2 separate regions of the Homo sapiens genome follow, and region 1 is linked to region 2. Evidence: promoter capture Hi-C in 16 types of primary human blood cells and fetal thymus (Javierre and others, 2016). All regions are on one chromosome and are shown on one strand. The core of a region is centred on a gene start or on the middle of the fragment in contact, and the rest is flanking DNA. Distances in the headings are between cores, read along the strand shown.

The links. Contacts are between HindIII fragments. The CHiCAGO score rates a contact against its expected background, and 5 or more counts as called.
Region 1: a fragment that was not itself captured here is called in contact with the fragment with the promoter of STAR in region 2 in 1 of 17 cell types (megakaryocytes); the score reaches 5.0 in megakaryocytes.

What each region holds. Positions count from the first base shown.
Region 1 is chr8:37,860,336-37,865,241 of GRCh38, forward strand. It overlaps RAB11FIP1 (RAB11 family interacting protein 1), which reads right to left. Exons shown (of 6, transcript NM_001002814.3): 6 at 1-2,778. The coding sequence ends at 2,560. Among named protein-coding and RNA genes, the nearest start is that of BRF2, 13 kb to the left of the region's middle. The HindIII fragment of the contact is 1,803 bases long and covers 2,167-3,969 here.
Region 2 is chr8:38,149,433-38,154,133 of GRCh38, forward strand. It overlaps STAR (steroidogenic acute regulatory protein), which reads right to left and starts at 1,520. Exons shown (of 7, transcript NM_000349.3): 1 at 1,323-1,520. The coding sequence starts at 1,386. RefSeq lists enhancers at 1,359-1,658, 2,007-2,039, 4,083-4,701 and a promoter at 1,493-2,808. The HindIII fragment of the contact is 1,310 bases long and covers 1,494-2,803 here.

The DNA.
Region 1 (4,906 bases), core at 1,818-4,317, 290 kb before region 2:
TACCTTTTCTTTCTTTCTTTTTTTTGAGACAGAGTCTCGCCCGTTGCCCAGGCTGGAGTGCAATGATGTGATCTCAGCTCACTGCAACCTCCACCTCCCTGGCTCAAGCGATTCTTGTGCCTCAGCCTCCCGAGCAGCTGAGATTACAGCTGTCTGCCACCACACCCAGCTAATTTCTGTATTTTTTAGTAGAGACGGGGTTTTGCCATGTTGGCCAGGCTGGTCTCGAACTCCTGACCTCAATCAAGTGATTCACCCGCCTCAGCCTCCCAAAGTGCTGGGATTACAGGCGTGAGCCACCGCGTCCAGCCATACATGTACATTTTCAGAGTTCAAGTGAACATACAGTTTTCTTTATAAGTATGTAAATAAATTTCATAGCACTACAAAAATACAAGTCATCTGAGAAGTTTACAGTGGTCCCAGTACTGTAGGAGAGAATTAAATAAAATAAAATAGCTGTAGATAATTAAAAGCTAATTAGATAAATCAAGTTACAGTATCATCCTTCAGATTAAAGTGCTCTGATATAACCAATGCCACAGCAAACGAAATCCTGGAAAGAGATTGCACTGCCAATGATTTTGTCTCTTAACCTCAATGTAACAAGGACACACATAAAAGAGATTCCTGATTTAATAACTGCTATCATCTTCACCCCCAACCACGCTATTAGCCTGTGATATTCTTCCCCTAGGAGAGATGTCAAGATTAGATGAGATTCTATCATAGCCAGGGAAAAAAATGAGAAATACCAGAAACATTCTAATTCCAGTCTTAAGTGAGTAACAACAAAATTACCTGAAAAATCTCAGCTGGTGCTTTTAGCTAAGAAGGAAGCAAGTGCCCTAGTTAAAAAAAAAAAAAGTCTATAAATCTAGTTTTAAAAATACAAATTCAAAAATAAGTATCATCTTCTTGCTCTGCACAGTTTTATAACAAGGGGGTAAAATGCTGGTGAGTCTATTCATGAGGGAAAATGGAAAAAAAGCAACCATTTGAAGGCTGAGGCACCTGTTTTCTACTGACTTTTAACTTTTATTAACTACATTAAGCCCTTCACTACAATTTCCCCAGTATCCCACAAATAATTTGGGTTTCCTTTTGGGCAGGGAGAGAAAGTGTTCAAAGGACAGACATGCAGATGCAGTTCAATCCCTTTGGGGTCCAATCCATGGTCTCCTGTCCCCTGTAGAGTGAAGGGGCTTCTTTTTTTCTTTTTAGTTTTTTTTAAGACAGAGTCTTAAAAAAATTGCCCAGGCTCTTTTTTTAAGAGTCTTAAAAAAACTCTTGCCCAGGCTGGAGTGCAGTGGCACGATCTTGGCTCGCTGCAGCCTCCATCTCCCAAGTTCAAGCAATTCTCCTGCCCCAGCCTCCCGAGTAGCTGGGATTACAGGCACGCACCACCATGCCAAGCTAATTTTTGTATTTTTAGTAGAGATGGGGTTTCGCCATGTTGGTCAGGCTGGTCTCGAACTCCTGACCTCAAGTGATCCACCCTCCTCGGCCTTGCAAAGTGCTGGGATTACAGGCATGAGCCACCACGACTGGCCTGAAGGGGCTTCTTCATCTTGGGGAGTTGGTGGACCCTGTCTCTGCCCCTTACAAGGAGTGTTGCTGAGGAAACCAGAGCACCGAGCAAAGGCACAGGGGGAAAAGGCCAAGCAATCGTATTGACATCATTCCACACCTGGAGAACTGTATTAGCGAGTGCGTGGACCACCCAATCCCCTAGCAAAGCGCTGAATAGGCTGGTCTAGCCAGCAGGAACCTGGCTGTCATAAGAGGAGGGGCTTTCACCAAGTTCCTCAAATTGAATAAAGAGTAATTCTTTTAATTCCTGAATTCTACTTTTCCTATCTCCAGTAGAAGGGCCCTGGATCTAAGCAGAAGGTATTTTAAGGCTAGAGAGTAGTAGAAGTCGATGTTTAGAAAAGGCCGCTTGTTCAAAATCTGAAAGGCATACTCAGAGGCTTTCTCTAAACACCTCTGTTCCCATCAAAAAACAAGACCCAAGTCTGAGAAGCTGGGTAGGTTTACATGGTATCAAAATTTAACATCTGCAGCCAAAAGCCACACCTGAGCTACTCAGAAGCCAAGAAAGTATGTGTATGTAACACAGCACCAATCGCATGGTCCTTTTCTCATTTAAAGCTTTCTCAGGTAAGCTTTAAGAGCTGGAGGATACATACTGAAAAAAAATCTCAGTATGAAAGAAAGAAAACCCCAGTGTTAAAATACATGAATACTTCCTGTGCCATCTGAATCTCTGGCTCAGGATCAGATCTTATGACCACATCTCTGGTGGGCATAAAATATTTACAACCTTGTTAAAGGCACAGTGGCATTTAAAACTAAAGCCTTGGGAATGTACAGTAAAAGATTAATTGTAATCATTAACCTGGCTTCCATTGGTAGAATTCACTCTTGCCGGATAACATGTGAGGGAGATGGTGATTCGGAGCCTGCTGGCTGGTTATCAGGCAAGGCAAGTCCTTGACCCCTGGAGCAGGTGAAAGTGAAGTCACAGAAACGTCTCGGTGTTTTTTTTCTGCTGATTTACATCTTTCCTGCTTTTTTGCCAACCTGAGTCGGGATGCGGAGGATATTGGGGGTTTCTTCCATGACCCTGACAAGCAGGTTGTCAATGTAGTCTTCCAGCTCGCGGACCTGGAACTCCTTCTTGCTTATCGTTTCCTTCTGTTTGAGGACCAGCTGAATCAGCTCATCGTGGGTCAGCTGCGCATATGCAAATGCAGGGTCCGAGGGGCTGTATTTCTTTGGAGGGGGGGAAATAGTTGGGAAAAAGGAGTTATAAAATTAGCACAGAAACCTAAAACCTAAAAGAAGTACAAAGGAGGAAAAAGTGACTAGTGATCTGGGTCTCTTGGGAATCCATTTTCTTTCTTTCTTTCTTTCTTTCTTTTTGAGACTGAGTTTCACTCTGTCACCCAGCCTGGAGTGCAGTGGCGCGATCTCAGCTCACTGCAACCTCCGCCTCCTGGGTTCAAGTGATTCTCCCACCTCAGCCTCCTGAGTAGCTAGGACTATAGGCATGCACCACCATGCCTGACTAATTTTTGTATTTTTTTAGTAGGCACAAGGTTTCACCATGTTGGCCAGGCTGGTCTTGAACTCCTGACCCCAGGTGATCCGCCTGCCTCAGCCTCCCAAAGTGCTGGGATTACAGGCATGAGCCACCGTGCCCAGCCAGGGAATCCGTTTTCAATTTACAGTGAAAACAGGTTGTTGACTGATGAAGTCTTCTGGAAAGGGCCAGATAGCACATATTTGAGCCTTTGCGGGCCACAGACAGCCTTTGTTAACATGTTCTTCCTTGGTTTTTTGGTCTGTTTGTTTTGTTTTATTTTGTTGTATGAACTTTTAAAAATGTAAAAACCATACTTGCCTCACAGGTCGAGGACCTCTGGACTTGACTCTGGGTTTGGATTTTAAGCAGTGCCATCATGGGAGGACTCAGTTCTCCAAATGAGTGCTCACTCCTTTGGGAACACTAGGAGCTCACACAACCAAACACCAGTGCAGAGCTGGTGACGACTCCCAAGCCAGAGGGGGCCCAGGAAGACACAGCTGTGACAGCAAGTGCAGGGAGCAAGGGCTTTCTTTCCAGGGCAGCAGGTCGAGGTCCAGCCCAGACTGTCTGCTCCTGCCAAAGCTGCGCTCAGAAGGACTCAATGAGCAGGTGGATGCAGAGGACACCCAGGGACCCCACTTCACATCACTTCATACTCGAGAAATATGCGGAGTCAGAGCCAGGTGCCACCATGCCCCGTCCTCACCCGTGGCCGTCTAGGCACGCCCTTGGGTACACAGCGGCCTGTCCCAGAGCTGAGTGTTCCACTCCCGAGGAGAGCACACACCCTGCGGAGTCACTGTGCTTTATCAGCATTTATGATCTGGGGCCCCTGCAAGCCCAAGCAGCTTGAACCAGGAGGAGATGTAAGGTAAAGCTTAAATGAAAAGTCACATGCTGTGTAAGTCCCCAGTAAGGAAAAAAAAGTGACTTTTCCTGAAATCTGTAGCCTGAGATTTACATGTTTAAAGAATCAAGATGATTTTGCTGGCAGAGCTCTGAGGCAGGAATAGCTTTACTGCCCTGAGGGTCTAACGGTTTCACTGCCTACCAGGAAGGCCAAGAGACTACCTTCTCCAAGAATCAACACTAGTTCCTCAGTGACATGATAGGAGCCCCAGTTCAGTCAGTGACGCAAACTGCCTGGACACGAGCCAGAAGTCAAAGGAGGGATCCCAGCCCTCCCATCCTGGCTAGGAACAAAAGCAAGATGATGGCGGTACTAACTTAGACACACAACACCAACGTTTCCATAGACAGAGCGGGTTCAACCCCACACAGGCTGCACATTTAGAGGTGAGACACTGGACTGCTTTTCCAAAACCTGCTTCTCCCCTAATCTTTGTTTTTTAAAACTTTGAAGGCATGCATTCACGATGCACCTCCTCTGGACCTCAGTCACTGTAGATGTGACTTCCAAAACAATATTTCATTGAAAAGTCGCAAGTCTGGAAAAGAGCCCTAGCGATTGATTACACAACAATGTGAATGTACTTAATGCCTTTTTTTTTTTTTTTTCCCCATAGAGACGGGATCTCTCTATGTTGCCTGGACTGGTCTCAAACCCAAGCTCAAGTGATCCTCCCACCTTGGCCTCCCAAAATGCTGCGACTACAGGCATGAGCCACCACACCCAGCCTTACATTTTATATCAAGAAAAAAGAGTCACCTTTGTAAATAATGGCAAAGAATACGTCCTCAAGGGATTTTAGATTATATCTCTGTCATATAAGGATCTTATTTATTTATTTTTTAAAAGTCTCAATACATAAGATACTCTGCATGGAGTTTGAAAGAGAGAGGGATGCAGAG
Region 2 (4,701 bases), core at 270-2,769:
AATCAGCTCTACAAAAGTGGCCTCTTGTAGCTGGTTTCTGCCCCTTCCTGGCTATTCAATGATAATCAGTCTTCCGTCTTATCTCTTTACCTTGCCCTCCTGTCTTACTCCCCTATGTCTCTTCTCCGTCTTTTTTTGCCTGTGGGAGTCAAGTCTAATATTTACTCTGCCACTGTGGGCAAGACTTTCCTGTGTACCCCTGCTACAAGACTTGTCCAGCTCTGAAGGAAGGCAAAGTCAGGAATAGTTCAAGAAAGATGGCCAGGCATGGTGGTGCACGCCTGTGGTCCCAGCCACTCAGGAGGCTGAGGCAGGAGAATTGCTTGAACCCAGGACGCAGAGGCTGCAGTGAGCCAAGATAGCGCCAGTGCACTCCAGCCTAGGCAACAGAGCGAGACTGCCTCAAAAATAAAATAGGCTGAGCGCCATGGCTCATGCCTATAATCCCAGCAGTTTGGGAGGCAGATCACCTGAGGTCAGGAGTTCAAGACCAGTCTGGTCGACGTGGCGAAACCCTGTCTCTACTAAAAATACAAAAACTAGCCAGGCGTGGTGGCATGCACCTGTAATCCCAGCTACCCAGGAGGCGGAGGTTGCAGTGAGCCGAGATCGTGCCACTGCGCTCCAGGCTGGGCAACAGAGTGAGACTCCATCTCAAAATAAAGTAAGCCAGGTGTGGCGGCTCACACCTGTAATCCCAGCACTTTGGGAGGCCAAGGTGGGAGAATCCCTTGAGCCCAGGGGGTCAAGACCAGCGTGACCAATATAGCAAGACATTGTCTCTAAAAAAAATAAAAATAAAAATAAATAAATAAAACTAGCTGGTTGTGGTGGTGCACGCCTGTAGTCCCAGGTACTCAAGAGGCTGAGGTGGGAGGATGGCTTGAGCCCATGAGTTTGAGGCTGCAGTGAGCTATGATTGTTCTACTGTACTCCAGCCTCTGTGACAGAGACCTTTATTCAAACAAAAAAAAAAGAAAAGGCGGAAGAAAAAAAGAACGAATGAAGGAAAAGGGGAAGGAAGAAAGGAAGAAAGAAAGGAAAGGAAGGAGGGAAGGAAGAAAGAAAAAGAATAAAAATGAAAGAAAAGGAGAAAAAAAGATTGGAGTCCTGGAGGGGAGACCAGAAATTATAGAATCTGGAAGGGATATATCTTAGTAACCAGCCCACTTCTTCCGAGGGGAAAACTGAGATTCAAGAAGGGAAGAAACTTGCCCAGGTTCACCCAGTAAGAGGCACAACTAGGATCAGAATTGGGTGGCCTGAGCCTCATCCGCTGAGAGCTGGCCAACCCCTCATCGCCTCCTTCCCGCAGCGCTCACCCTTCATGTTGCGCATGTGTCTGTAGGAGCTCCCAGCGCACAGCTTGAATGTCGCTAGCAGCATTGTTTCCTGGCAAATGTGGCAGTGGTGGGGTCGCTGCCGCTGCTGCTGCCGCCGCTGCTGCTGCCTCTTCTCTCAAGGGTGGTTCTTCGTCCTTCCTGAGCCCCTCAAGCTTCGCCTCTGAGTCCCGCAGCTGCAGCCTGGACCTGGTGTTCTGCGTCTTAAATGTCCCCCGCTGAAGGCTGTGCATCATCATCAGGAGATAAAAACGCCATCACTCACTGTGCAAAGGAAGGGGTCAAGGATAGAGCGATTGCCTCACACTGCTGCTTTGGCCGTTTGTGGGGAGCTTGGGGCGGGGGAGGGTGCAGGGGAGAGTAGGGAGGACAGGGCCAGGCGAGGGATGGAGGGGAGAGAAGCAGGGGCAGCTTAGATGAAGGCACACAGTGGTTTTCAAGACTTTAAAGTGCAGATTTCTAGCCCTTGTCTTCAGAAACTCCAGGCTCAGCTGATCTGGAATTGAGGCTCAGAAACCTGTGTTAAAAAAAAAAAAAAAAAAAAAAAAAAAAAAAAAAAAGAAGGAAAAGAAAAGAAAAAAGAAAAAAAGAAAAGAAAAAAACTTCCCTTGGCCAGGCGCGGTGGCTTACGCCTGTAACCCCAGCACTTTGGGAGGCCGAGGTGGGCAGATCACTTGAGGTCAGGCGTTCGAGACCAGCATGGCCAACATGGTGAAACCTCATCTCTACTAAAAATACAAAAAATTAGCCGGGTGATGTGGCAGGCACCTGTAGTCCCAGCTACTCGGGAGGCTGAGGCATGAGAATCACTTGAACCCAGGAGGCAGAGGTTGCAGTAAGCCAAGATCGTGCCACTGCACTCCATCCTGGGCGACAGAGTGAGACTCCGTCATAAATAAATAAATTAAATAAATAAATAAATAAATACCCAGTGGTTGCAATGCAGGTGTTGTGTGGACTACACACTACACTTTGAGAACCACCGTCTCGCGAGAGTGAGCCAGGGTGTTTACCAGGCAGTAGAGACCATATGGCTGCTCTTCTTCTGGGTGAGGACCCTGAAGTCCACAGAGTGGAACTGACTTGTTCAAGGTCAAACAGCTGGCCAGTGGCAGGGCCAGGACAACAACCCAAGCCTCTGGCCTTCAAGCCATCTGTACACAGTTCCTCCTGCGGTCCCCAGGACGCTTGGTATATTCAACTGTCAATTTATTTACTCATCTATTTATAGAAACCACCTTTCCCAAAGTCCTGTTCCGAGTGAGGGTTCTTAGGGGTCTGTGCTGGAGCAAGGATGACCTCTCGTGGCTGAGTCGCGGGGGGGCGGGGGGGGGCGGGGCAGCCCTATCAGTATACGGCAGAGAGAAGAGGAGGGCCTGGGCCACGCCCACACCCTTCCTCACACTTTCCCGCCAGTAGCTTTGTCTGAGTGAGCTGGGCTGGGGGTCTTGGTATGTGCAGAAAGCTTGAAAAGACAGGGCATGGGCTGGGCACAGTGGCTCATGCCTGTAATCCCAGCACTTTGGGAGGCTGAGGCGGGCAAATCACAAGGTCAGGAGTTTGAGACCAGCCTGACCAACATGGTGAAACCTCGTCTCTACTGACAATACAAAAATTAGCCGGGAGTGGTAGCGTATGCCTATAATCCCAGCTACTCAGGAGACTGAGGCAGGATAATCACTTGAACCCGGGAGGCAGAGGTTGCAGTGAGCCAAGATAAAGCCACTGTACTCCAGCCTGGGTGACAGAGCAAGACTCCGTCTCAAAACAAAAACAAAAACAAAAAAACAAAAATTAGCCAGGCATAGTGGCAGGCACCTGTAATCCCAGCTACTCAGGAGGCTGAGGCAGAATTGCTTGAACTTGGGAGGTAGAGGTTGCAGTGATCTGAGATCACACCATTGCATTCCAGCCTGGATGACAGAGCGCGAGACTCTGTTGCAAAAAAAAAAAAAGGAAAAAAAGAAAAGACAGGGCGTTGGGGTGTTCACCCTAGTCTTTGCACTTTAGGGGCCCTGTCAGGCTGAGCAAGGCCCCACGAGGCCTCTGCATTTCCCACTCACCCTTACCCAGGCGCAGCACGTGCTGGGCTCTGACTCTGACGGAATCTCTTCCCTTTACAGTGACCTTGAGGCTGCTTTTAAGCCAGATTCACTGGGCAAGAATATTGGGAGTGGAAAAACTCACACTGGAACTGCCCCTGGCCCAGGCCCTGCTCCCTGTGGGAGGGAGTTCTGTGTCCTGCCACCACCTCACAGAGGCAGAGGGGAGCCCTAAAAATGGGGAGCAGTGCCGGGGCCCCATGCACTCTCGCTGTCTCCCCAACACCAGACAGGGTGAAAGGGACAGGATCTGCTCAGAGCCAGGCCTGGCACTTGGAGCCCATATAGAACAGGGGAGTCACCCCCCTGGCCCCCGATTTCCACCCCGGTGATGCAGTCGGGGAATCCTGTGAGCAGAGGCTGCCTAGAGGTACCCGGCCCCTTCCTCAAAACCTCCTCCAGGAAACCTTCCTAGACCATCCTGGTCTTCTGGAATGCTGGCTCCTCCCACCACACCCTTACTGTCAGTATCACTTGAGGGGCTTAGTTCTGGTCCTGATTTGTTGAATGGTTTGTATGTGTTTGCTTGTCTCTTCTGTGGAATTATCTCCCCAAGGCAGGTGCTGGGTCCACTTTCCCCCTTAAAAGCTGTCCCCACCCTCAGCACTCACCTCCAGCAGAGACACAGGGGACTCTTGCTCCTTCTCTATTAAAACTTTTTTTTTTTTTAATTTTTAAAAATAGAGACGGGGTCTTGCTATGTTACCCAGGCTGGTCTTGAACTCCTGGGGTCAAGCCATCCTCCTGCCTCGGCCTCCCAAAGTGAGCCACTGTGCCTGGTGTGCTCCTTCTCTATTGAGTGACCAACTGGGAAAGCAGCTAGGGGTGCAGGTATATCTTTAGACTCAGGAAACCTGCCTGAAGGCATTGTTTCCAGCCCTCAGTCCCCAAGGAAGACAGCAGGGCCTCTCCCCCGTCGCCAGCCTGTGCCTAGGCCCTCTACCTTTCAGAGAGGAGGTGCAGTGGATGAGCTGGGCAGGTGGGGTGCCAGCTCCCCCGGCTCCTCCCTCTGATCTGCTGGGGCATGTGCCTCTCCTGCACATGTGTGTCTGCAGGCCTGCCTCAGCGAGGTGGGGGGAGGGGGAAGGCGGTTATTATGGGACAGGCCATGCAGATGATGATCAAGGCCCTGCTGCTGCCTTCCTGTGGAGAATTATGGCCATTCTGAAAGGGGTGGAGGTGGTGTGGGAGACGGAGGATAGAGCCTATGGCTGTGGCTGATGTCAGAGGCTGCCATTGACTCCTGGGAGGGGGTGGTT